Regions from separate parts of the Homo sapiens genome. Here regions 2, 3, 4, 5 and 6 are each linked to region 1. Evidence: promoter capture Hi-C in 16 types of primary human blood cells and fetal thymus (Javierre and others, 2016). All regions are on one chromosome and are shown on one strand. Each heading gives the region's core, a stretch centred on a gene start or on the middle of the fragment in contact. The rest is flanking DNA. Distances are from core to core; before and after follow the strand shown. Region 1 holds the start of GSG1L (GSG1 like). Region 2 overlaps GTF3C1 (general transcription factor IIIC subunit 1). Region 3 overlaps GTF3C1 (general transcription factor IIIC subunit 1). Region 4 overlaps GTF3C1 (general transcription factor IIIC subunit 1). Region 5 overlaps GTF3C1 (general transcription factor IIIC subunit 1). Region 6 overlaps GTF3C1 (general transcription factor IIIC subunit 1).

Region 1 (4,223 bases), core at 450-2,949:
AGAGTGAGACTCCATCTCAAAAAAAAAAAAAAAAAAAAGATGCTACTGGATTCTTTACAGCTGTTTGGCGATGATGTATTTTCTCTGTCAACCAATACTCTCAATGCCACCATTATCACATGGAGGTCCTCTCTTTCAAAATAGTTGAGAATCTCTTGCACAGTGCCAGAAAAGGGCTCTAAAAGCAAGTTTGGAGACCCTTGGCCATCCTTCGTGCCTGCTCTTACCAGGGACGTTGCCCACAACGTTTTCCTCTCACCTACCCCCCGGCAGATTAGCAGCAGCTGACAGTGGGTGCCGGCTCACCCACAGGAGTAAGGCAATTCATAATCGGTTAACCTTGAATTCTGCAAGGCCTGCCACTCGGCAAGCCGGGGGTTGTCGGAGCAGTTCTCAGCTTGGGCAGAATTCAAATGAGCTCTTATAATCAACATGCAATTAATTGTTGCACGCCCTGAGCATCTGGGCAGTAAGTGCTGTGCAGCGCGAAGGGAGTTCAGGGAGCGTGGTCATCTTAGAGCAGAGGTGGGGACGGGGTTGCACACAGTTTCCACGTTGCACAGGAGAGCCTGAAGAGGTTTGTCTGAGTTTGGTCAACTGATCTTGGTTCAGATGTCAGTAACAGTGAATTATTAATTGAGTCTACTGTGTGCCAAATGCTTTTTGCAGCCATGATCTCATTACAGCAGCCCACTGTGATATACCTTGAAGGGGGGGGGGTCCTCCCTTTTTTATAGTTATGGAAATTGAGGCTCAGAGAGGGTAAGTGACCTGTTCAAAGCCACACAGCTGGTCAAGCCCTAGATATGCTTGATCCCAAAGTCAGTATGTTTGGCCACCCTGCCCCCACCCGAATCTTGAAGATTCTACCCACATTCACATGGTGTGCATGTGAGCAGGGTTGGCAGCCCCTGTAGGGCACCACTGCCTGGTAGCTGCAATAACTTTGTGGCCGGCATGGGCCCTCCTAGGGTTCTGCTGTTTGGGATCTCAGGTGGGTGCAGTGGGCTGTCTGGGGTACCCTGTTGCCACTCTTCCTGCAGTTGCATGCCATGGTTGGGAGCCCAGATGACAGTTTCATCCTTGGAGGGGAGCTCTTCCCAGATGCTGGAGGTGACACCCAGGAGACAGAAAAACGTTTCAAACCCTATAACCCAATACTCCAGGAGGGGCGCCTCCTGACAGATTCTGCCACTCCAAGTCCAGCATGGGTTGTCTTATCCAGGGGGTCTTGCAGCTCCCTGGCTGTGGGAAGCCCTGCAGGCTCTGCTGTTTAGAACCTTTGGAAAAACTCCTTTCTCAGGGTCTGGTGCGGGGGTCCTTTTGGGGATCCCCTTCTGGGACAGGGTCCTGCTGGTCCGTGTCCCTCTTGGGGAGCCCCAGCAGGCTCTGCCCTTGTCTCCTGGGGCAGGGCCTCTCTGGGTCTCATGAGATGCCCGCTCCCGGCGGGTTTTGTTGCCCCACGTCCGCCGTGGGGATCTTTTCTCAGGAGCGCCTTGCCTGGGATTCTCCTTGCGTCTCAGACCCTCACCCTGGCTCGGATTTCTTTCGGGGGCGTCCCTCCACTCCCAGGCCCCCGCCCGCGCCCGGCGTGGCGGCCCCCTCTCCCCGTGCGGGCGGGCTCCGGAACAGTGTCGCCGGCCGCCTGCAGGTGTCTCCCCACGGAGGGGCGCGCGTCCCTGCGCCGTGGCCGCTGCCAGGCGCCAGCGGCTCCTAGCCGAGGTGCACTCGCGCTCCGGGCTCCGGGCGCGCCGTAGCCGCTCCTCCACCGCCGCCCGCCCCGCCAGCCCGCCCCGCACGCCCCCCGCGCCGCGCCCCCACCCCGGGGTTGGGGGGGGCATGGGCCCGCGCCGCGTCCGCCGCCGCCGATCTCAGGCACCCGAGCCCCGGGGCGCGGCGGGCAGCGGCCGCTGACGCGGGGCGCCAGCTGCCAACTTCGCGCGCGGAGCTCCCCGGCGGTGCAGTCCCGTCCCGGCGGCGCGGGCGGCATGAAGACTAGCCGCCGCGGCCGAGCGCTCCTGGCCGTGGCCCTGAACCTGCTGGCGCTGCTGTTCGCCACCACCGCTTTCCTCACCACGCACTGGTGCCAGGGCACGCAGCGGGTCCCCAAGCCGGGCTGCGGCCAGGGCGGGCGCGCCAACTGCCCCAACTCGGGCGCCAACGCCACGGCCAACGGCACCGCCGCCCCCGCCGCCGCCGCCGCCGCCGCCACCGCCTCGGGGAACGGCCCCCCTGGCGGCGCGCTCTACAGCTGGGAGACCGGCGACGACCGCTTCCTCTTCAGGAATTTCCACACCGGCATCTGGTACTCGTGCGAGGAGGAGCTCAGCGGGCTTGGTGAGTGCGCGCGGGCGGCGGCCAGCTCGGCTCCGGCTCCCCCGGGGCGGCGCGGCCATCGAGGCCCGAGCCCCGGACCCGTTCGCCCTCCTCCCGCCGCCTGGGCCCAGCTCCCAGCGCTCCGCCTGGCTAGGGGCGACGTTCCGGGGCAGGGGGCGCGCGCCGTTCCGGGGCCGGGGACCAGCATGGGGGGACGTGCGGGACGCCCCGCCGTGGAGAGGTGCAAGGCAGAGCTCCTACCCGCTGCGGACGCCCCGCGGCTTTGGGGACGCTCCCGCGCCCCGGGAAGGCGCCCACCCCCGCTGCCGGTCGGAGGGGCGCGCGCTGCTTTCCGCTCCTGAACTCATCTCCACGCTCGCCCCCTCCTCCTCTTCCTTTCGCGGGGCACTAGATGCCCCCACCCACCCCGGAACGCCCCTGGGGGTGGGGGTGATGCAGGGACTCCTGCTACCAGCCGCCCCTCCTGCCGCAGATCCACAGACCCGGGAGCCTTCCACCCCCATCGCCAACCCACGCCGAACCTCCCAGACGGGAGTGGGGAGTGGGGGAGTCCCGCGGGCTCCCGGAAAGCCGCACCCGCCCAGAGGCACCCCTATTGCCAGACGCCAGGGAGCCCTCTGTATCCTGGCCCCCTCCTGGGAGAGGCAGGCTAGGGAACTGGGGACAGCTGGGCAAACTCCGGGTCGAGGAGTCCAGGAGGGCTTAGCTTAGCACAAGGCTCCTATTAGGTTCGGTGGGGGACTGACTTTTCAGAAGGCAGATCAGACTGTCCCCTTTGCCTGGACCCCCTCCTCTACCCTCCAGAGGCAGCCTGGGCTGGAGTGCGTGTTTTGGAGGCAGACAGCCGGGCTGTGGCAGGGCCCAGGGGACAGCTGCCGGACAGCTGGTTGTGCCACACAGCAGGTAGAGCTGGCCCGAAAGACGTGGTATCTCTGAGCGGGTGTCCAGGCATGGACACCCTCCTGAGTGAATTGACCTCTTTCTCCAAGGTTAAAACTCCTCCCTGCATGCCTAGCTCCTCAGTGTGGACACCACACATATGTGTGTGCTCAAGGGTGGGTTACAGCAGACCTCCACCCTTAGTTTGCCCTAAATAAGCCAGTGGCCTAAGTGGTTTAGAGGGCAGAGGGAGGAAGCTGTGAAGCGAACCCAGTGAAAAGCTCCAGGCCTCTGCACAGGCTGCATCCTCTGTCTGGAATGCCCTTCCCCGCCCCACCTCCTTCTTCAGGGGCTCCTTTCACTGGGACTCTCCCACCTGCCTTCCATGTCAGGATACTGAGGAGGGACAACCTTGTGAGCTCCCCGTTGGAGGGAGGGTCTCCATCTTTGGATCTCACCACTGCGTTTATCTCCCTGCCACACTTGGCACTCCCTGACATTTTCTGGGGCCTGTTTTTGGTCACTAGCTTATAGTCCCCACTCCCCATAGGATGTCACTCTGTGAGGGCCAGCCCGGTTGGTCTTGTTCACTGCTGCCTCCCAGTAATGTCTAGCGCATAGTAGGTCTTCAATAAACATTTGCCGGGTGCATACTGGATGGGGTTGGGATGATGAACCGGAGGCTTCCTGCGGTGCTGCCTCCTCTGTCTCTCTTCTGGGGGTGGCTGACCAAACTTTTCTGTGACTTGAGCCAGGCTGGCCGTTTGTCAGAGATACATGGTGTTTGAATATGGACCTGCCCCTGATTGGTTTCATCCCATCAGACCCACTTCTGGTTTACACTCAACACTCAAATGTTTACTGTGGGATGCAATTAAAATTATTAACTTCAAAAGGCATCTTGGCCAAAATTCCCTGCCTTCCGCACAGCCCAACCCTAATCTCTCACACGGAGGCCTCGTAACACCTTGTTGTCAGGAACATCTTCGTCCTTGGAGGTAGACATC
Region 2 (4,223 bases), core at 999-3,498, 590 kb after region 1:
AAGCAAAACTCAGTTCCAAAAGCCCAGGTTTTGTTTTTCCATCTTGGATAATCAATAGTCACTTTGATTTTAGCTCTGTATTTCAGTGAGAAACCTTTTTTCTTCGGAGAAAAACTCGTTTAGAATTAGAGGGAAAGAAACGAGAAGTACTAACTACATTTATTAGTGGTCATGTAAACCCGTTCCAGGTAGGTCACCCCCTATCTACTAAAAGAAACTTTTCTCCTGCAGAAATGGACCTGTTAGTAAAGCCTAGAAACCATCATATATTGTGTTTTCTTTTGTGAATAGTTTTGGCATTTGTGTCCCTTTTGTGAGATTCAAGTTTTTTTCCCTAAGAATTGCATCTGCCTGAGCTGAGCAGTGCCTGTGGTCTCATGGTGCCCTGCTGCCCCCTCTCTTTCAGCGTGGATGACATCCACTTTCTGGTGCTTCAGAACCTGATCCAGAGCACGCTGGCCCTCTCAGACAGTCAGATGAAGTCCTACCAGTCATTCCAGGTGGGTGTCGGCTGCCCGGCAGCACAGCGGGGATGTGGGCCCTTCCGAGGCCAGGCTCGTGAGGTGCTGGCCCCTGCCCTTCTCCGCTGTGGGCTCTTGGGCTGATTCCCCCAAAATGCCAGCCCACATGTCTTTCAACTTTATTTTTTTATCGTTGTTTTATTTTTATTTCTTTGTGTTTATTGTGTATGTTTATGTTATACAACTGGAGGATTTGATGTACGTATACATTGCAGAATAATCGTCACAGTCAAGCCAATTAGCACATCCATCACCCCACATAGTACCTTTTCTCATTATGGTGAGCACACTTGGCGATCTCTCCTCCTGGTGCATTTCAAGTGTACAGCACCAGATTGTCACCTGTCATTACCAAGCTGTGAGCCTCCAGGGCTTAGCATCTCATAGAACTGAAGCTTTGCACCCCTTGGCCAGCTTTCCTCATCTCTCTCTTTAGTCTTTAAAGCATGGGGATGGGATCTAGTGACCTCCACAATCCCTCCCAGAGCTGAGGTTTTTAAGTCTAATGTTTAAGACAGAAAATGAAGCAGGAGAGGAAATGAGGCATGGCAAAGGACCTGAGAAAGTAATTGAGCTATACGGCATAGCTTTTCAAATCATCACTTTGGAATGCCAAGATATTCTGGTTGTGGGAGGTCACTGGATGGGAAAGCTGCCTTTCCGTGGGCAGTGAGTCATCTGTCTCCCGAGGACACAGGTCCACGCGGCCGCTCTACTGCGGCTGAAAGAACATGAGAGTGAGGAAGGGAAATCACATCGAACCCCCGGTGGAGCCTGGGAAGTCAGTGGTCTTACTACTCTTATACAAATGTGGGCACTTGAGGTTCAGAGAAGTTAAATCACACACCCAAGACCACATATCTCAGTCATCACCCAAGACCCCAACAGAGAGGTGCTGAGGGTCCCCTGCCAGTGCTGCCCAGGGCCTCGTTCTCCCCCAAGTCATCAAAAGTGAATTCTAAGGAGGACCCGTTCATTTTGTATTTAATCACTAACCCTAAAAATCTGCTCCTGGCTTACATTAACAAGTCACCTGATTTGGAATACGAGGGGAAAAAAGAATAAGAAAACAAAGGGACTTTCCTAATCCCGCCGATGAATTCAGATGGGTGAGGACCCGATCATTAGGGCGCCTCACAGTCCACAGAGAGATCTTATAGCATGTTAAGCCCAAGCCCTATTCTCAGAGACTCCAGTCAAGAGCAGTGGAGTGGGGCCCTGATAAGAGTGTGCCACCCCTCCCCAATCCCGAAGGGGCCCATGGGCCACCCTTGCAGAAACAGCAGTGTTGACCCTGGCGGGGCGCTGCACGTGCTTGTTACTTTGGCCACAGCGGGGCAGGGAGGACTGGGGGAAATGGAACTGGTTCAGGAAAATGCCACGCTGGGCTTGAATGCCCTGCTTCAGAGCAGCACCCTGGCCCTAGTCTTTAACGGCCATGGCCAGACCTCAGCACACCCAAGACAGAGTGTGCATTTGATTTCTCCTGTTTTAATCACCACCTGGAGGTTCTCTGTGCCTCCTGCAGGGACACATGGGACCATCAATCAGGGAGGCCCGAGAAATGTCCTCATACACTTGCTGTGCATCCCTTGAACCCTGTGTTTTATTTCCTCCTGCCTGTTTTACACATACGGTCAAGTGTACACATTTGGAGTGGAAGGCTAGTATCTGTGCCGTGCGCCCTCTGCCACCCCAGCATTTTGTAGATGAAAGCAAAGCCCTGTCTGAGCCTGAACTTGCAGAGAAAAGAATAAATAGTATTGGGTGAAGTTCCAAATAAACAGTCCACAGACCGTATTTTATTGGTCTCACGCTTGTTTAAAAGGAAAAAACAAAATTTTTTTTTCAAAAAATGTTTTTTCCAACATTGCACACAGGAGTCCAAATTTCCGACTTCTGGCTGTGGGGTGGGCCTTCCAGCTATCCTGCTGATTAGTGGCTCAGAGCTGGAGGGGACTTTGGGGATCCTTCCCACTGTACCCCACCTCCAAACAAGAAAGCCCAGCCCCAACGGCAAAAGCTGGGCCCCCTGCCTTCTAGCCAGGCCCATCCCCAGTATTATTCCCACGGCTTTTTCCTCCTCCAGTTCCAGTTCCATCTCCAGGTGGCACCTGGGCTCTGATGTGTGGTACCGAAGGCCTAGTCACTCTGCCTTAACCCCCAGGGGCATGGAAAGTCACCTTAGAAAGACCACCGGCCTGCGTAGCCTCCCTCCCCGAGCAGGAAACAGGACACTTCTTTAGTGACTCTTGAGTGAGGACTGGAAGGCCAACAGCAATGTCAGAGCCCCATAGGGGACCCCGCGAGGCTCCCCTCAAGGTTCCGGGAAGCCAGTGGAAGGCTGCAGGTGGGCTCACTGTGCCTGTGACAGCCCAGCCTCTTGGAAATGTGAGTGGGTGGACGATACCCCCCAACTCACCACACATGGCCTGAGCGCTCCTATCCTGTTATGTGGGAATACACCCATTCGCTAGTTATATTCAAATGGAAGAGAAGAGCAAAGTCACAGAAGGCTTGTCACAAGGAGTGAGATGCAGCTTCCCTCCAGTGCTCTAGGGAAGGATGATGGTGTAATGGCCACTCCCAGCTTCTCCCGCCCACCACATGGAGAGTGTTCCCCCATAAGGTCTGATGGTCTGCATGCCCAGGACTGGCGCACAGGTGCTGTCTAGAGGAAGCAAGTTGCACAGGCTTCATTCAGATACGCTCCAGGGAACACCTGGGTGCTGCCCCAGAGCCCCAGCTGACCACCGCACCGGTCCCCGGTCCCCTTGTGTCCCTCCACTGGAAGGAAGGTGCAGTGGTGAGGTTGCTCTTCTCTCCTCTGACCCACCCCTGCCTGACAGTGTGACCTCAGAGGATCACTTAAAGTCCATGTGCCTCAGCCTCCTCTGTCACTGAAGGTCCTGGGGGCAGCACCTAAAATCCTTAGACCATGACAGGGATTTTTCTTGGCCAGTGCTTTTGAGGAGACAGTCCTATAGGAGCTCTCTCAGAGGATGGCAAATGCTAGATACTCAGGAACTGCTGGTTGCTTGCCCTTTGCAGAAGCTTGGAGTAACAGAGACTCTGCTGACTGCACAGTCCTTTGAGCTGCTTGTTCACTAGGCGGGGCCCAGGTCCATGAGACTTAGCAGGCTGAGCCATGAAGTCACCATGGCATGTCCAGCAGAGGTACTTCCTTCCGCCTAGGCACTGGGGTGGCAACAGCAAGAGTTGAATCTAGGCCAGGCATGGTGGCTTACGCCTGTAATCCCAGCACTTTGGGAGGCTGAGGCAGGATGAGGCCAGGAGTTTGAGACCAGCCTGGGCAACATGGTGAAAAACCCATCTCTACAAAAAATACAAAAATTAACCAGGCATAGTGCCTGTAGTCCCGGCTACCCAGGAGGCTGAAGCAGGAGGACCGCTTGAGCCAGGAGGTCGAGGCTGCAGTGAGCTATGTTGGTGTCACTGTACTCCAGCCTGGGCAACAGAGTGAGACCCTGGCTCAAAAAAAAAGGAGTTGAATCTGTGTTCTCCTGGGACTTCCAAACAATGAGTAAGCAAATGAGATTGTTTCAGGTGGCTGCTATGGAGAAAATAAAACAGGATAATATAAGGCAATTGACCTCAGAGGAGGAGAATGGAGAGGGATTTGTTATTTGAGGGGAAATATTTGGGCTGAGCCCTGAATGTTGAGGAATCAGCCAGGCAAAG
Region 3 (4,223 bases), core at 1,105-3,604, 570 kb after region 1:
AACGGAGAACGATAAAGCAGGAGTCAGGCAGGGCAGGCGTCCGGCCGTCCTCCTCTGGAAGTGCCTGGGAGGCCTGCTCTGAAGCCCCATCTAAAGGCAGCCAAGATGGTGTCACCTGGGAGGCTGAAGTGGAGCTTGCCACGGAGACAGGTGAGAGGCCCCTGCCACTCCTGCACCTGGGGCGGGCAGGCCCAGTAGTAGGATCCAGGGAGAAACATGATAGTTCCTTTTCCTTATATAAACTGGCTGCAGCCTCTGATCCAAATGGAAACATAATCCACACTTCCTGAACCTGCAGGCTTTCTTCCTCATCTTCCTTCCTGCCTGACAAGTAGAGTTTTCCTCAAATTAGGGGTAAAGACACCAAGACCTCCTGGGAGATGACGTTACCATGTGTCACCATGGTGACTGGTATCCTGGCTGCCGGGGGTAACCGTGCGTTTTTTTCCTAGTGTATGTCGACGATGCCTCGTGGATGCGCTACATCCCCCCAATCCCAGTCCACAGGGACTTCGGCTTTGGCTGGGCTCTCGTCAGCGACATCCTCCTCTGCCTTCCCCTCTCCATCTTCATCCAGATTGTGCAAGTCAGCTACAAGGTATTGGTGACAGGAGCCATTATCACAGGAATTGCCCCTCAGCTCTGGGCTGGAGGGCCTACACTCACCTGGGCAAGGGAGGATACTTGAAGACCCGGTGTTGCCCAGATGAATGGATTGGTGGATAGATGGATAGGCAGATGCTCATTCAAGGGAAAATATTTTAAGGATTTGTTCGAGATAGATTAGACTAGATTAGATTAGAAAGATGATTGGGTGGATGGGTGGGTGGTTGGCGGGTAAATACTTTAAAGACTCGCTCTTCTAAATGGATCTATTGGTAGGTAGGTAGACAGAAAGACAATTATATTACAACAATAAAACGTGGTTTTTTTTGTTTTTTTTTTTTGTTTTTTTTTTATGAGACAGAGTCTTGCTCTGTCGTCTAGGCTGGAGTGCAGTGGCGCGATCTCTGCTCACTGCAACCTCTGCCTCCCAGTTTCACGCCATTCTCCTTCCTCAGCCTCCCAAGTAGCTGGGACTACAGGCACCCACCACCACGCCAGGCTAATTTTTTATATTTTTAATAGAGACGGGGTTTTGCCATGTTAGCCAGGATGGTCTCAATCTTCTGACCTTGTGATCCGCCCGTCTTGGCCTCCCAAAGTGCTGGGATTACAGGCGTGAGCCATTGCACCCGACCAAAACATGTTGTTTTTAGAAATTTGGTAAATAGAGAAAGATAAAATAGAAATTACCCATAACTGTATCACTCATAGAGATAATTACTACTAAGTAATTATCTTCTTGGTAAGGTTTTTGTAGTCTTTTATTGCTATGCCATACTTGTATGTACACGGGTATGTGTGTGATCTCCCTTTAAAAAAAAAAGCTGAATTGAAACTATATTCACTCTTTTATTGTCTGTGCTTTTGACTAAAGAATGTTTTGTATTTTTTGCATCATTAACTTTTTAGACTTGATATTAAGTAGAGTCATAGTATTCTTATGTGTCTAATTTATTTAACCATAATATTTTCTATTTTTGGACATTTAAATTCCACTTTCTTACTACTGTTGAGTAGGTATTTATTATGACATGTTGATGAATACCTTTTGGGTAGACATAGATTGGCGGCTCCAGCATTTTTTCCTTTGGGTAAGGATAGGAGCAGAATCACTGGCTTCAAAAGGAACGCGTGTTCTCTATCTCATCTTTTCTTGTTTAAAATATAAATGTATATATTCTTATGTTGCCCCCGGGAAAGGTTTAGCAATTTCTATGCCTACCAGCAGGGTATGAGGGCACCTGTTTATTGCCCTCTGCAGTGTGGTAGATGGGCTGGAGGGGAGGGGCAGCGAGGCCAAAGGCAGAGATGCAGGGGCACTTGGTGGGGCAGGAAGGAGAGCCCAGTGGGCAGGTTCAGGGAGACTATGGTCAGAAAATAGTGGCGAGCACTTTTTCAAGATTCTTGCAGGTCGCCCTGGCCCTCAGGGCGAGCTGAACCTGCACATCACCTCTTCAGGTGGACAACCTGGAGGAATTTCTGAACGACCCGCTGAAGAAGCACACGCTGATCCGCTTTCTCCCCAGGCCCATTCGGCAGCAGCTTCTGTACAAGAGGTGAGGCCATTGAACCTGACCCAGAGTAGTCGCAGGTCCAAACAAACCCTTAAGTCAGGGCTCTAAGCCATCATTCACCAGGAAGAGGAAAAGGTTTCTAACTTCCAGCTTGCAAAAACTCAAGATTTTTATTAAGTTATTAATATTAATGAAGTATGGGCTGGTATATTTTATTACTTGATTTGAAGGTTCTTTTAAAGTAAAATCTGCTGCTAGTGTCTGCAAGTATCGGAATTTTTTTTCCCTTTCATTACTTTTACTTTCCAAATCAAATCCCTAGTGTCGGGTTGATCTCTGTGGCCCTGGTTGGGTGTTAGGTTGGGTAGTTCTGGGCCTTAGTGCAGTGTGGGCTTGAGGCTGGTCCTCCAGTGACCACCAGGTGGAAAAGAGAAGAAGGAAGTCGCACCCCTCACCCCACATGCAGACCCCTGCGGCCGGCTGCGAGTGTGGTGTGATGAGAACCTCCCGCCCCCTCTGTTTTCTAGGCGTTACATTTTTTCGGTGGTGGAGAACCTTCAGAGGCTGTGCTACATGGGGCTGCTACAGTTTGGTCCCACGGAAAAGTTTCAGGATAAAGATCAGGTAATGTCCCTCAAGCCCAAACGAAGGAAATTCTGATTGTTAAACGGTCTCCAAGCAGCCAGACCCAATGTGGGTTCTCCCTGTCTGGTGTCTCCCCTTAGGTCTTTATCTTCTTGAAGAAGAATGCAGTCATTGTTGACACTACCATCTGCGACCCACATTACAACCTGGCCCGCAGCAGCCGGCCCTTCGAGAGGCGCCTCTATGTCCTGAACTCAATGCAGGATGTGGAAAACTACTGGTTTGACCTGCAGTGCGTCTGCCTCAACACCCCACTAGGTGGGTGTCGGCTGTCTCGGCTGAACCTGGCTGCTTTTGCTCCTTTCTGTGTGCTAACTGGGATTTAGGGCTAGAAAAGCCTAGGAGTTGCCTCAACCAGTGGTATGTTCCGAGTGCTCCCCAGAGGCCCAGAGCACCCCTGGGGCTCCCTTGGAAAGGAAAGTGGCGGGCCTTGAATGGGTGGGGTGCTTCCGGTTCCCCCACTCAGTTGAGCCCAAGTAGCTGCACTTTGTCTTCATTTGTTCATTGAGTAGGTATTTATTAAACACACCGGCTGTGTGTCACTTCCTGTGCCTGACAGTGCCACAATGAGAACACAGCCCGCCCTGCCTTCGTGAGACTCAAAATCTAGTGTGAAGAGGAGACACAGCTCACAGGAGTGCAGTGAGGGCCTAGGTGTTGGTTGGGGTGGTGTTTATTCCAGGGCTCGGGAACAGCCTTGCTGAGGAGGAGACATTGGAGCTGAATTCTATAGGATGAGGCAGAGCCAGCCAGGGCCAGAGCTGGGGAGGGCATCCCAGGCAGGGGCAGTGACACAGGCTGAAGCCTTGAGTGGTATGTTGGAGAAAGAGAGGAGGCCATGTGGGTAGGAGGAGAGTGGCCGTCCACTGGTGACAGTGAGGAGGACAGGACAGGCCTAGAGGTGTTTTGGAGGGAACTGATCAGATGTGCTGGTGACTTGGCTGAGTTGGGCTTTGTGGGGAGCCTCTGCCCACACCCCTCTCTCTCCCTAGAAGGACCCTCCCTCCCACACTGGCTTCTCAGATGCCCACTCCTACTTCAGGTGTCACCTCTCAGAGAAAGCGTGTCCACACCTTTATTAGCATCATTCCATTTCATCTTGGGAGTTCCTTGTGCCTAGAATAGTTGGCTTCCATCCCCATGATGTGTCGCAAAGTGTCGGGTGCACAGTCGGCATCCTGTAAATGTGGATCAAATGCATGGAGGGTCTACGGAAGGCAAGAGAGCCTCCCCTGCAGTGCTTTTCCTCCAGGCCTTTCTCCACCTGGCCTTTTCCTGCCACCTCTACCAGGAGAGAAAGGAAGCCACGTTCAGCTTGCACCTCCAAGAGGAGTTCCATTCCGCTCCTCCCTTCTTGAAGCTGAAAGATCCAGTATCACACTTTGATTTTTGCAAAGTGGGAGTCACACATTTTGCTTGGCAGAATTATTTAATGCCAAGAGTAATAGCACTTGTATT
Region 4 (4,223 bases), core at 707-3,206, 550 kb after region 1:
TTGTACCTTTTCTAGTTCTTACCTACATATACGTATATCTTTCTCTCGTTATAGCCGTAGGCACAAGTTTGTTATTTTTTTCGCATGTTTTACTTTTGTAGGTTGCAATATAGATGCATCACACAGTGTGATGATTTGAATGCACACACTAGTCCACAGAAAGTGAGATGGCTGGTAGGTATGCCACCCCTCCACCCCCATTGCTGGTTTTTTTGTAGTATGCATAAGATCGCTCTGATGCTATAAAGAGTGCTGTAGTAGATCTATTAGTACTGATAGGCTTTGCCTCTTTTTGAGTTGTTTTCTTGGAATAAATATTTACACTTGGAATCATTATAAAATCCCCTTGAAATGCTCTAGAAGGGTTATACAGCTCGTTTACACTGCTGCCACACCTTATTGGCAGTGAGTATTAGCTTAAAAGGAAAAAGATGCTTTTCATCCTTTTGGCAAATACTGCTCGCGTGCCTCCTGAGTGTGGGCCGTGTCCTGGGTGCTGGGAAGGGAACAGGAAGAGACAGGCGCGTCTCCTGTTGTCATGGAGCTGGTCTCCAGCAGGAGAAGGTGACTGACTATTGATTTAACAGGACTAATAGCACCTCGTTATTCCTTCCATTTGCATTGCTTTCTTCACTCATTCTTCTAAAAACAAAAAGCAGCTTTATGGAATACATTTTCAGGTCTTGTGGCCCAAGATGAGCCATTTTTAAAAGTCCAGACACGGTGATATGTGTGACCTTTGTGGGGATCTCTGTCTCTGCTGACATGTGCTGTGATATTTCAGAACCCCTCACCTCCCCCACGCAGCACTGCTTTCACTCATTGCTGGCAAACCCGTGCTTGTGTTGCCAGGGACCGACGTCATGGTTCGGTGCCTCAAGCTGCTGAAGGAATTTAAACGGAATGACCATGATGATGACGAGGACGAGGAGGTCATCTCCAAGACAGTGCCTCCAGTGGACATTGTGTTCGAGCGGGATATGCTCACACAGACCTACGACCTCAGTAAGTCTTGTTCCCATGCCAGCTTGGATATGGATCCCGAGAATTTGAGTCAAGAAGCGCTTTGCCCACATGTCGAGAGAGAGCTCTGCTATAGAGAATGTAATACAATGGGAAGTGCCTTGGTTCCCCAGAAGGGTTTAGGCTTCAAGGTCAGATTGGAGTTTGAATCCTTGCTCTGCCACTTAGCCATATGATTTTAATGAGGTCTCTGAGTCCCATTTCCTCATCTGTAAAGCAGGCATCTTAGAGTTCTCCAGAGACACAGAATCAGTAGGAAAAATAAACATAGATATATAAGAGGGAGCTTATTAAGGTAATTGGCTCATGCAATTATGAATGCTGAGAAGTCGCACTAGCTCGTCTGCGAGCTGGAGGCCCAGGGAAGCGTCAGAACTAGGGAAGCCGTGGGGGCAGGTCCCAGTTACCTAAGGCTGGAGAGCCTGGAGTTCTGATGGCCAAGAGCAGCAGAAGAGGGGGCTGCAGCTCCAGAAGAGAGAGAGGGCAAGTTCGCCTTCCTCTGGCTTCTTGTTCTGTCTGGGCCCCTGGCTGATTGGATGGTGCCTGCCTGCATGGAGGGCAGATCTGTCCCACTTAGTCCACTGAGCTACACACCAATCTCCTTCAGAAACACCATCACAGACACACCCAGAGATAAAACCTGACCAGTGATCTGGGTATCCCTTAATCCAGTCCCATTGACACCTAAGGTTAACCATCACGTGGTGAAAGTATCCACACTAGCACATTATGAGGATAAATGACATCAAATTAAAAGAGCTGCTATAGGGCCTGGTGCATAGAAAGCACTGAGAAGAAGAAAGCTATTACTATTATTATTCAAAGGTTCAAGAGCTACCTGTTGTTTTCTAAGATTGGTCTGGAGTTACCACAGGCCCGGAATTTATGATGAATGGGCAAAGAAAACATTCTCTCCCATTCCTAACCCTTCCCCCAGGTCCCCTAACTTCTGTGTGGGACATCAGTGGCCTAGTGTCACAGGCGGTGTGGCCTCAGGTTCCTGCAGGGAGGAGGACAGAGCAGAAGGTGAAGTGGCTGCAAGGGATCTGATTGAGCTGTTGGGTCGGCCCAACCTTTCTGGAGGGCTGTTTGGTAGCTCCCTTGACGTCCCTCAGAATGGGTTCCACACAACACAGCTGGGGAAATGCTGCCCTTAACCCTTTCTTTTTTCTTTTTTGAGACGGAGTTTGACTGTGTCGCCCAGGCTGGAGTGCAGTGGTATCTCAGTTCACTGCAGCCTCCGCCTCCCAAGTTCAAGTGATTCTCCTGCCTCAGCCTCCCAAGTAGCTGGGATCACAGGCATGTACCACTGTGCCCGGCTAATTTTGTATTTCTTTTTTTTTTTGAGATGGAGTCTCGCTGTGTCGCCCATGCTCGAGTGCAGTGGTGCGATCTTGGCTCACTGCAAGCTCCGCCTCCTGGGTTCACGCCATTCTCCTGCCTCAGCCTCCCGAGTACTTGGGACTACAGGCGCCCATCACCATGCCCCACTAATTTTTTTGTATTTTTAGTAGAGACGGGGTTTCACCGTGTTAGCCAGGATGGTCTCGATCTCTTGACCTCGTGATCCACCTGCCTCGGCCTCCTAAAGTGCTGGGATTACAGGCGTGAGCCACAGCGTCCGGACTAATTTTCTATTTCTTTAGTAGAGACAAGGTTTCATCATGCTGGTCAGGTGGGTCTCGAACTCCTAACCTCAGGTGATCCACCCACCTCGGCCTCCCAAAGTGCTGGGATTACAGGTGTGAGCCACCACACCTGGTTAGCCCTTTCATCCCTACTTTTTAGCGTGTTGCTAGATCAGTATAGGAACACATCCTAGTCATCTTTCTTCATTCTGCTGCTTATTTTTATGCGTGTACAACATAGCAAAACCTCCTTTATTCAGACTGATTTTACTAGGCAGCCTCAAGCCTTTGGATGCATCAGGAAATAAAGAGGAAGATACTTCTTTTTTTTTTTTTTTTTTTTTTGAGACGGAGTCTCACTCTGTCGCCCAGGCTGGAGTGCAGTGGCGTGATCTCGGCTCACTGCAAGCTCCGCCTCCCAAGTTCACGCCATTCTCCTGCCTCAGCCTCCTGAGTAGCTGGGACTACAGGCGCCCGCCACCACACCCGGCTAATTTTTTTGTATTTTTAGTAGAGATGGGGTTTCACTGTGTTAGCCAGGATGGTCTCGATCTCCTGACCTCGTGATCCGCCCGCCTCAGCCTCCCAAAGTGCTGGGATTACAGGAGTGAGGCACTGCACCCGGCCAAGAGGAAGATACTTCTGAAAAGTCAAAGAGCTTTGCAACCAAGTCTGCCTTGCGGCTCATGTGCTTTACTGCTGGGACTCCCTGCCCACCTCCCAGTTCCTAAGCCGACTCCTTCCTGGAGTTCTTAGTTCCAGCTTAGTAGGATGCATTTAAAGGGCCTCTGAGCGGCAGATATACTCACAATCCTGACATACACCAGCTTGTGACAGCCCAGGAGTAGACAAGCTACACACAGCAACAGCGGGGGCCAGTGGTCTGCGAGTCATTTACTCCAGGGCTGAGGAATACCATTTCCTTTCAAAGTCCTCGCTTGCACGACTCTTATGGGACAGTGCAGTAGTCAGTGTCCACAATGCCTCTGTGTCTATCAAGAAATACTGGGAAATGAAGAATACACATTAAGAAAAGTTCTGAATTAAAAATTATTTTGATGCTTCTTAAAGAGGTCAATTTCATTGATCTGAAACAGTTCATTCATGCGAAAGGGCTAATTTCCTGCCGTTGGGTAAAACCTATTGGGTTCTTGCATTTTAGTATTTCAGCTGTTGATCACCTGACATTTAGTGTTTTAACGTGGGGCCATGAGATAGTAAGCATTCAAACATTAGCTGTTAGTATTACTAGCCTAGTATAGTATATTACTCAGAGGCTTGGGAGGGAAGCACGCTTGGGAGGATAAGGGAGAGAAATGGCGTATGTTTTGTTCTGTCTGTTAATTTCACAGCATCAAAATGTCTGCTGAAAAAGTGGGCTGGAAACTGACTTGTGCAGAACAGCTCCTTTGCAGCGGTTTGGGTTCACGTGTATTGTTTCTCACAGTTGAGCGCAGAGGCACGAAAGGAATTTCCCAAGCTGAAATCCGAGTGGCTATGAATGTGGGAAAACTAGAAGCAAGAATGCTGTGCCGACTTCTTCAAAGATTCAAAGTTGTCAAGGTAACATCA
Region 5 (4,223 bases), core at 1,017-3,516, 530 kb after region 1:
GGATTACAGGGGTGAGCCACTGTGCCCAGCTGTTTTTTTAGAATAAGAGTGCTTTGTCCTTCATTTAAATTCTTGCCTTTGCCTGACTTCCATTTCTCCCCTGGAGTTCGTTCTAGGACCTATTATCAAAGTTCAGACGGAATAGGAAAATGCGGCATTTAGGTTTACTTCTGTAATCAAGCTTATGATCTTGTTCCCAGTGGTTTTGTACTGAAATAGCAGAGCGGCTGTCCTGAGGGGGAGGGGAGAGGACGCAGGGAGGAAGGCAGCTGTTGACCTGCTTCGTCTTTGGGCCCCAGAGCAGAGGCTGTGGCGAAGGGAGCGCGAGAGGGAGAAAGGCGGAGGGGAGCTGCTTCCAATCTGACTGGAAGGTTTCAGTGCAAGTCAGGAAAGAGCCAACGTTAGAGATGGGAGGAAAACAACATGGCCCTGTAGGTGAAACCAGAACTTAAAACTGAACATTTGAAGTCAAGCTCTTTGGTGACTAGTAGTTAGTCCCCTAATGAGTGGTCTTCTGTCTGACCGCAGGCACCAGGACAGTCCTTGTTCTTTCCCCACGTTGCATCGATGGAGTTCTCTGATTTCATTGTTCACAGGGGGAGGAGGTGTCTTCCACATTGCTAGATTCACTGCCTGCCTAAGCCTCTTTAAAGCAGTGGTTACAGTCTGGAGGCTTGTGGCCCAGACTTGGTCTGTTAAAAATAAATTTGACCTAGCATTTTTTAAGAAATTGAGACTTTCCATAAAAATCTAGGTTTCCAGTCTGTCTCCAGAAATGAGAAGCCTGGGCCTGCCGTCTCTCCTGACATCAGTTAGCTGGAACTAGTTGTGCACTAGCTGGGTCCCCCGCAGTCCACCTGCTTCCTGTCACCTCTCCGACATGAGGCAGGGAGGCAGGGCCATTTGTCACTCCATGAGCACTGCTGTTTGTAGTAGGGGAGAAGTGTTTTGCTTCTCTGTGTCTCAGTTTATCAGAGTAGAAAATCAAAGATAGATGGAGAAGGCCTCTCAGGAAACCCTGGCAGAAACGAAGGAATTTCCTACCGGCTTAATAAACAAATACCTGGCCACCGTGTGGATTAATGTTACTTGTCCAGCCCATGCAGACTCTGGAGATTGAAACCCTCTCTCCTACCAAGTCACTCGGGGGCAGGGAGACAGGGCTAGTCTGGTTTCAGGTCAGCCCTGTGGACTGTGTTAGCAGCAAGCCTTGACTGTTACTGGACAGCCTTTCACTTATTCATTGAACAGATACTTCAGGGAGTGTGTATGTTGAGTTAGAACTGTGTTCCACAATAAGATGGTGAAAGTTAGCCAGGATGACAGGTCTCACACTGTCGTGGAGCTGTCTAATCAGAAGGGCAGGCGTGTGAACACATACCTGGAAGGATGTAGCTGAGCCAGTAGAGGGAAAGGGGTGCTTTCTTTAGAGAACTGGGGAAAGCCTCAAAGAGCTGTGCCAAAAGCACAGTTGAGCTGGGCTTTTCCCCACATAGACAGAGGGGAAGTGGCATTTGAGGGAAAGGAGAAGAGCTGGTGCAAAGGCATGAGTTGTGGAAGGCCATGCAACATGCTTAGAAGTGGGCAGTAATCCAGAGGGCAGCTGGCACATTGTGTGGCTGGATAGGAAGGTAGGGGCCCAATCAGAAAGGACTGGAGTGCTGGCTGAGGAGTGGGGACTTTAGCCTTGAAACTTTAGCCTTATGCACTGCTGCTGGCCGTGTAGAAATGAAGAAGTTATTAGCCAGGGGTGGTGGTATGCACCAGTCCAGCTACTCGGGAGACTGAGACCAGAGAATCGCTTGAGCCTGGGAGGTGGAGGTTGCAGTCTAGGCATATGAGCTGGTGGAGGGAAGGGGATGGGAAGAAGGTGGCGAGGTTGTGGTCATGAGGGCTGGAATTGTTTGAGAAACATTTTGGAGGTGAAACTAACAGGACGTGGTGAGTGCCTGCACTGGGATGTAGAGGTGACTGAAGAAGGAGGATCTCGAGATGAAGCCAGTGAGTTTCGCTGGAGTGGCTGCTGCTCACTGAGGCAGCGCAAAGGCAGGCTTCTGACGCAGGGATCATGTCTGCTTGCTCACTGCGGGCCCCCACGATGAAGACAGTGCCTGGCCCCCTGTAGAGGCTCAGTAAATATTTGCTGAATGGGAGTTGAATAAATAGGTCAGAAAGAGGAGCAGATTTGGGTGAGGAGGAGGCACAGGACAAATCTCAGTTTCAGACATATTGGGTATGAAGATCTTCCATGACTATCCCCTGGTGATGTCTAGTCAACAGCTGGAAATTGGGGTCACAGAGAGCTGAGCAGGATTCAGTGAATAAATTAGCCTATAGATGAAGCTGAGGCCATGAATATGGATGCTGCCTTTTGGGGGGATTTGGTACGAAGACTCACTGCCTCTTTCTCTTTCTGCTGGCCAGATTGTGCACGTCGTTGATGGCAGCCCCTCAGAAGGCAAGACTACATCATCCTTCCCCTCTTAGGATGGTCCAGGGCTTAGTGCCATATGTCAAGGGCTGGGATCTGATGGATGAGTTTCCATGGGGTCTTTTTATGATGCTGGGGGCACGGCTAGATTAACGATAAATGCCATGTACAAGCCAGTGGCTTTGAATGAGCCATATGTGAGTCATCTGTATTGTTTTGATAGCCATATGTTCTGCCACCCAAGGGCTGGAGTGCTGGTTAGCCTGGGAGGTAACCACACATATGTGGCGGCGGCAGCCCACAGACATTTGCTCCCTGTCTCTCCCCCCAGAATGTAAGAGGAAAGCTGTAAGATTCAGTGAACAGCTCTCAGTCACGAGTGCCTCCTGCCATTCGCTCCCTTGCTGGGAGCCATGGTAACCTGCCAGGGGCTGCAAAATCACATGGCAGCAGTGCCCAGGAGGGTGATACCCACAAGCAAAATGGGCCATGTATAAAATAAATTTTTGATACAGGATAGGTTTAAGAAATTAACTTTCCTCTTAACTACCATTAGAGAAAACCAGCACAAAAATGGTGATAAATGGCAACTGACGTTCAGTTTCATTGTTGGAGGGTCTGATTGGGGAGCGCAAAGGCTGTGGCCCCCTGGAACCGGGTGGGCCCTGCTGAAGAGCAGCTGATCAAGGCTTCTGTTCACTGTTGCTGTGAGGAGCTGCAGTCCTAGCCTTTGAAGAGAAGCCAGAATCTAGGTCTTTTTTAATGTGAAATCACTCACTTTTCAATTTTGGCAAGTAAATTACTTTCTTGAAGAAAAACATTGTATCAATTTTAAAAGCACCGCCTGCACTGGAGGCTGCTGTTGGTCACCCCTGCAGGGGAGATGTTCCTAGGATCATTTTGGTTTTCAGCCTTGCAAAAATAGGAGTGATGAGATGGAAATACCCATTATCATTCTGTTGTAACTTCAGAGACCACATTTAAATTTTCACAATTTTTTTTTTTTTTTTTGAAACAGAGTCTCACTCTGTCACCCAGGCTGGAGTGCAGTGGTGCAATCTCGGCCCATTACAACCTCTGCCTCCCAGTTCAAGCAGTTCTCACCCTCAACCTCCTGAGTAGCTAGGATTACAGGCATATGCCACCGCACCCAGCTAATGTTTGTATTTTTAGTAGTGACGGGGTTTCGCCATGTTGGCCAGGCTGGTCCAAACTCCTGGCCTTAAGTGACCTGCCCGCCTCGGCCTCCCAAAGTGCTGGGATTACAGGTGTCAGCCACTGCACCCAGCCTGTAAAATTTTTTAACCTATTTTTTCCCCTTTTTTTTCTCTCCTGCCCATGGGGGACAGGGGTGTGTATCTGTGTGTGTGTGTTTGTATTAGTAATACACTTACATGGTTAAAAAATCAAAACAACATGAAAAGGTATCAGATGAAGTCTTCAGTCTCCACTCCTCCACTCCTGCCTGCCTCATTCTCACCCCTGCACACCCTTCCAGGATCTGGCGAAGCGAATCTCTTTCCCCCTCTAATCAAAAGGTAGAATCGTTTATATCCTGCTCTGGACCTTGTTTTGGTCCCTTGACAAGGTAGCTTGGCAGGCTTTCCTCATTAGTACCTCAAGATAATCAATTAATTCAGGTCCTGAACTTGTGTTCATTTATATGACTTTCTAGTCATTTCAGACATCTTGCTGTGTCTAATAGTAGCCTTTAAATTGTGTTTTGGCAGGGGCTGTGCGAAAGGACGTTTAAGCGTCTGTACCAGTATATGCTGAACGCCGGGCTAGCCAA
Region 6 (4,223 bases), core at 403-2,902, 520 kb after region 1:
ACTGAGTCACAGAGAGGGATTATGTAACCTAAGGTTCTGGGGGCAATAAGTGACTAAGAATTGATTTGAACCCAGGCTATTTTCAGCGTCTGTGCTCTTAAGCCATATTGTGAGGGTCAGGGGAGGTTCCAAGAGGTAATAATGTCCAAGACAGGCCGGGTGCAGCAGCTCATGCCTGCAATCCCAGTACTTTGGGAGGCTGAGGTGGATGGGTCACAAGGTCGGCAGTTCAAGACCCGCCTGACCAACGTGGTGAAACCCTATCTCTACTAAAAATACAAAAATTAGCCTGGCGTGGTGGCGCATGCCTGTATCCCAGCTACTCAGGAGGCTGAGGCAGGAGAATCACTTGAACCTGGGAGACAGAGGTTTCAGTGAGCTGAGATTCAGCCATTGCACTCCAGCCTGGGTGACAGAGTGAGACTCTGTCTCAAAAATAAAATAAAATAATGTTCGAGACAAAACTTAAAGGTTGGATTTAGGCAGCCAGTTGGCAAAGAGGACTGTTGGACAGAGAACAGCAAATGTGAAGTAAGTGGCTGAAGTGTGGAATTGGAGGTAGGGAATGAGGAATAGCTAGGACTGTGCTAAGATCCTTAATACAACATGTTATTTAATTTTTACAGAAACCTTAGGAGATGGGTAATATTCTCCCCATTTTCCTGAAGAGAAAATCGAGGCCCTGAGGGGTCAAGTGGCATGCTAAAAGTCAACTAGCAAGGGAAGAACCCAGACTTTGAGGAAGGTCTGAGTTCAGATTCCAGCCAAATTGGACTGGAATCAAGTCTTTTAACCTACTTAAAGAGTTTATCAGCCTGTAATCCCAGCACTTTGAGAGGCAGAGGTGGGCGGATAACTTGAGGTCAGGAGTTCAAGACCAGTCCAGCCAACATGGTGAAACCCCATGTCTACTAAAAATACAAAAATTAGCTGGGCGTGGTGGTAGACGCCTGAAATCCCAGCTAGGTGGAGGCTGCAGTGAGCCGAGATTGTGCCACTGCACTCCAGCCTGGGTGACAGAGGGAGAATCCATCTCAAAAAAAAAGCTTATCCTTTATCAAAAGGACAGTGAGAAGTCACTGAAGAGAGGGTCAGACTAGGGGCAAAGAGTGAAGTTGAGAGATTTTTAGTAATCTAGTCATGGTCTGGCTTACCATGGTGGGCGTGGGGATGAAGAGCACAGGCAGTCAAGACATAGTAGGCTGCTGTTTGGGCACCTGAGCGAACCCTGATTCTCATCTCTGAGGCTGGGAACACGGAAGAACAGCGTGGGGGTTGAGTCTGGGGGAGGTGGGGACTTTGCTGAAGAGACATGTGACACATTTAGCTTCAGGTTCTTTTGAGTTGTCCAAGTGAAGAGTCTTAATTAGTAAACATCTGGCTTCGTGGGAGTGAAAGCAGGCCAGAGGGAGGGACTGAGCTAGACATCTGTGAGTCATTCCTAGCAGCTGGTAATTAAAGCAGCTGGCTAAGATCAGCCCTAAGAGAGAGTGTAGTGTGGTTGGAGGTCTTGAGATATAGCTCTGCAGTGCACCTACATTTCAAGGCTGGATGGAGGGTGAGGGACTTTCAAAAGAAGACTGAGGCGGTGTGGCTGGAGAGGTAGAGGACAGTCAGGTCAGAGTGGTGTTCTGGAAGTTTGGGAGGAGACAGGATCATTTAAGAACGGAGGGTTGGGCTGGGTGTGGTGAATCATGCCTGTAATCCCAGCACTTTGGGAGGCCGAGGCAGGTGGATCATTTGGCCAACATCGTGAAACCCTCTCTCTACTAAAAATACAAAAATTAGCTGGGTGTGGTGGCAGGTGCCTGTGATCCCAGCTACTAGGGAGGCTGAGGCAGGAGAATCGCTTGAACCCAGAAGGTAGAGGTTGCAGTGAGCCGAGATTGCGCCACTGCACTCCAGCCTGGGTGACAAGATCAAAACTCAAGTCTTAAAAAAAAGGAATGGAGGGTTAAATGGTGCAGATAACACAGAGGGGGCAAGGAAGGAAAGGGCTGAAACATGTACATAGGATTTAGCCGCAATTAGACTAGTGTAGGATATGAGTGAGATTTCAAAATAAAACTCGACAAGCAGCCAGGCAAGGTGGCTCACACCTGTAATCCTAGCACTTTGCAAGGCTGAAGTGGGCAGATTACTTGAGCCCGGTAGTTCAAGACCAATCTGGGCAACATAGTGAGGGGAAAAAAAATTATATATATATATATGTATGTATTTTTTTTTTTTTTCAAAAAAAAAAAAACTTGACAAGCTTGGCTAACTGCATGAAAGAAGCACAAATGAAAAATGTCTCCATGGTGTTGTAAGAGGCACATGGAAGAAAGCGGTAGTAAGAGGGGAAAGAAGGGACTTAATTGGAGCTGGGGAGAGGTAATCATATTTGGAATGGGAGGCATTTAATAGACAAGTGAAGACATTGGATCTGTATTTGGAGAAAAAGGACTGAGGATTCAAAGGTGAGACTTGTTAACATGCAGGCGGTAATGCAAACCATGAAAATGGGTTAGGATATTAGAGAGATAACTAAGGAGAGATGGAAAGATGAGATCTTAAAGGGAGGAAAGCTTTGGCCACTTGTGGTGGCTCCCACCTGTAATCTCAGCACTTTGGGAAGCTGAGGCGGGTGGATCACCGAGGTCAGGAGTTCGAGACCACCCTGACCAACATGGTGAACCGTCATCTCTACTAAAAATACAAAATTAGCCGGGCGTGGTGGCACACCCCTATAATCCCAGCTCCTTGGGAGGCTCAGGCAGGAGAATTGCTTGAACCTGGGAAGTGGAGGTTGCAGTGAGCCAAGATCATGCCATTGGACTCTAGCCTGGGCAACAAGAGCAAAACTCCATCTCAAAAAAGCGGAGGAAAGCCTTGAATCATTTCGTCCAACTTGGTGGTTTGGAGACTGAGTACCAGATTTGGAGGGAAACAAAAGCCCATGACTTGGCCAATAAGGAGGTTTAGGTCCCAGCACCCAGCTTCTGGAATAGTCTGGGGAGTCCTGGAAAGGTCTGCGTTCTGTGGGATAGAAAGGCAGGAACCTGCTTGTCAAGATTATCTGCATTTATAAGGCAGGAAAACTGACTGATCTCACTTCTCTCTGATCTCTGCTGGAGGTTGTCAAAAGAACACAGCCAAGCACACATTATATCTGAAGCTGAGTTGGGCTTTGATATTTGTGTTTTTCTCCTTAGGTATGAAGAAATTGATTTGGAAACTGGAATTTTGGAGTCTAGGAGGGACCCGGTGGCTTTGGAGGATGTCTACCCCATTCATATGATCTTAGAGAATAAGGATGGCATCCAGGGCTCATGCCGCTACTTTAAGGAGAGGAAAAACATTACCAATGACATCAGAACCAAGTCCTTGCAGCCTCGCTGTACAATGGTGGAAGCCTTTGACAGGTAACTATTTTGCACCATCAGAAATTCCTGGGAATCTGGCCGGGTACGGTGGCTCACGCCTGTAATCCCAGCACTTTAAGAGGCCGAGGCAGGTGGATCACTTGAGGCCAGGAGTTCAAGACCAGCCTGGCCAACATGGCAAAACGCTGTTTCTACTAAAAATACAAAAATTAGCCGGGTGTGGTGGCACATGCCCATAATCCCAGCTACTGTAGTGGCTGAGGCATGAGAATCACTTGAACCCAGAAAGCAGAGGCAGGCTGCAGTGAGCCGAGGTCATGCCACTGCACTTCAGCCTAGGCAACAGAGTCAGACCCTGTCTACAAAAAAAAAAAAAAAGGAAAAAAGAAATTCCTGGGAATCTGAGTGCTTTGAATGTGTAGTCAGAGCACTTGGATCTGGCCCACAACCTTGGAGTCTGTCAGAGTTCACTAGCCCTGCACTACGCCAGTTCTTGGCCTTCATTCGCCTTCTTCACTGGGGTCACGGGTCCTGCCTTTCTCTTTCCTTTGTGCTCACAGTCCTTGAGCACTTGAATGGTGCCCTTTCTCTCTTCCTACCTGGGCCCTGTGCTGCCAAGCCATTCTCTTGTGAATCCTCAGTCAGTATCCCAATTCCCCAGAGTGTCTAATCCAAATGATCATTTTTTTTCAAGCACCTAACTCCATTCCTGCCTTCCTTCCTACTTTACAGGGCAATGTGAACTCTGCTAACTTCCACCTTCTTTCTTGACTTGCAGACTTTTCCACATTTCTTCCCTGTCTACTCTCATCTCGGAGGAGGTGAGAAATGGTGGCCCTGTCTAAGGCTGTGATCTGG

Evidence for each region. Contacts are between HindIII fragments. The CHiCAGO score rates a contact against its expected background, and 5 or more counts as called.
Region 2: a contact is called between a fragment that was not itself captured here and the fragment with the promoter of GSG1L in region 1, in 1 of 17 cell types (M0 macrophages). The highest score is 5.5, in M0 macrophages.
Region 3: a fragment that was not itself captured here is called in contact with the fragment with the promoter of GSG1L in region 1 in 4 of 17 cell types (M1 macrophages, megakaryocytes, M0 macrophages and 1 more); the score reaches 12.1 in M1 macrophages.
Region 4: a fragment that was not itself captured here is called in contact with the fragment with the promoter of GSG1L in region 1 in 2 of 17 cell types (megakaryocytes and M0 macrophages); the score reaches 7.5 in megakaryocytes.
Region 5: a fragment that was not itself captured here is called in contact with the fragment with the promoter of GSG1L in region 1 in 4 of 17 cell types (M0 macrophages, M1 macrophages, M2 macrophages and 1 more); the score reaches 9.4 in M0 macrophages.
Region 6: a contact is called between a fragment that was not itself captured here and the fragment with the promoter of GSG1L in region 1, in 3 of 17 cell types (M1 macrophages, M0 macrophages and endothelial precursors). The highest score is 7.3, in M1 macrophages.

Annotation. Positions count from the first base shown.
Region 1 is chr16:28,061,190-28,065,412 of GRCh38, reverse strand. GSG1L (GSG1 like) reads left to right here and starts at 1,699. Exons shown (of 7, transcript NM_001109763.2): 1 at 1,699-2,337. The coding sequence starts at 1,989. The HindIII fragment of the contact is 8,058 bases long and covers 1-4,223 here.
Region 2 is chr16:27,472,728-27,476,950 of GRCh38, reverse strand. GTF3C1 (general transcription factor IIIC subunit 1) reads left to right here. Exons shown (of 37, transcript NM_001520.4): 29 at 407-500. Among named protein-coding and RNA genes, the nearest start is that of IL21R-AS1, 21 kb to the right of the region's middle. The HindIII fragment of the contact is 2,659 bases long and covers 919-3,577 here.
Region 3 is chr16:27,491,138-27,495,360 of GRCh38, reverse strand. GTF3C1 (general transcription factor IIIC subunit 1) reads left to right here. Exons shown (of 37, transcript NM_001520.4): 15 at 1-150; 16 at 453-598; 17 at 2,065-2,162; 18 at 2,648-2,744; 19 at 2,846-3,023. Among named protein-coding and RNA genes, the nearest start is that of IL21R-AS1, 40 kb to the right of the region's middle. The HindIII fragment of the contact is 4,726 bases long and covers 1-4,223 here.
Region 4 is chr16:27,508,531-27,512,753 of GRCh38, reverse strand. GTF3C1 (general transcription factor IIIC subunit 1) reads left to right here. Exons shown (of 37, transcript NM_001520.4): 7 at 853-1,005; 8 at 4,099-4,214. Among named protein-coding and RNA genes, the nearest start is that of GTF3C1, 39 kb to the left of the region's middle. The HindIII fragment of the contact is 8,426 bases long and covers 1-4,223 here.
Region 5 is chr16:27,528,660-27,532,882 of GRCh38, reverse strand. It overlaps GTF3C1 (general transcription factor IIIC subunit 1), which reads left to right. Exons shown (of 37, transcript NM_001520.4): 6 at 4,162-4,223. Among named protein-coding and RNA genes, the nearest start is that of GTF3C1, 19 kb to the left of the region's middle. The HindIII fragment of the contact is 4,165 bases long and covers 184-4,223 here.
Region 6 is chr16:27,544,495-27,548,717 of GRCh38, reverse strand. It overlaps GTF3C1 (general transcription factor IIIC subunit 1), which reads left to right. Exons shown (of 37, transcript NM_001520.4): 2 at 3,195-3,404. Among named protein-coding and RNA genes, the nearest start is that of GTF3C1, 3.3 kb to the left of the region's middle. The HindIII fragment of the contact is 1,208 bases long and covers 1,049-2,256 here.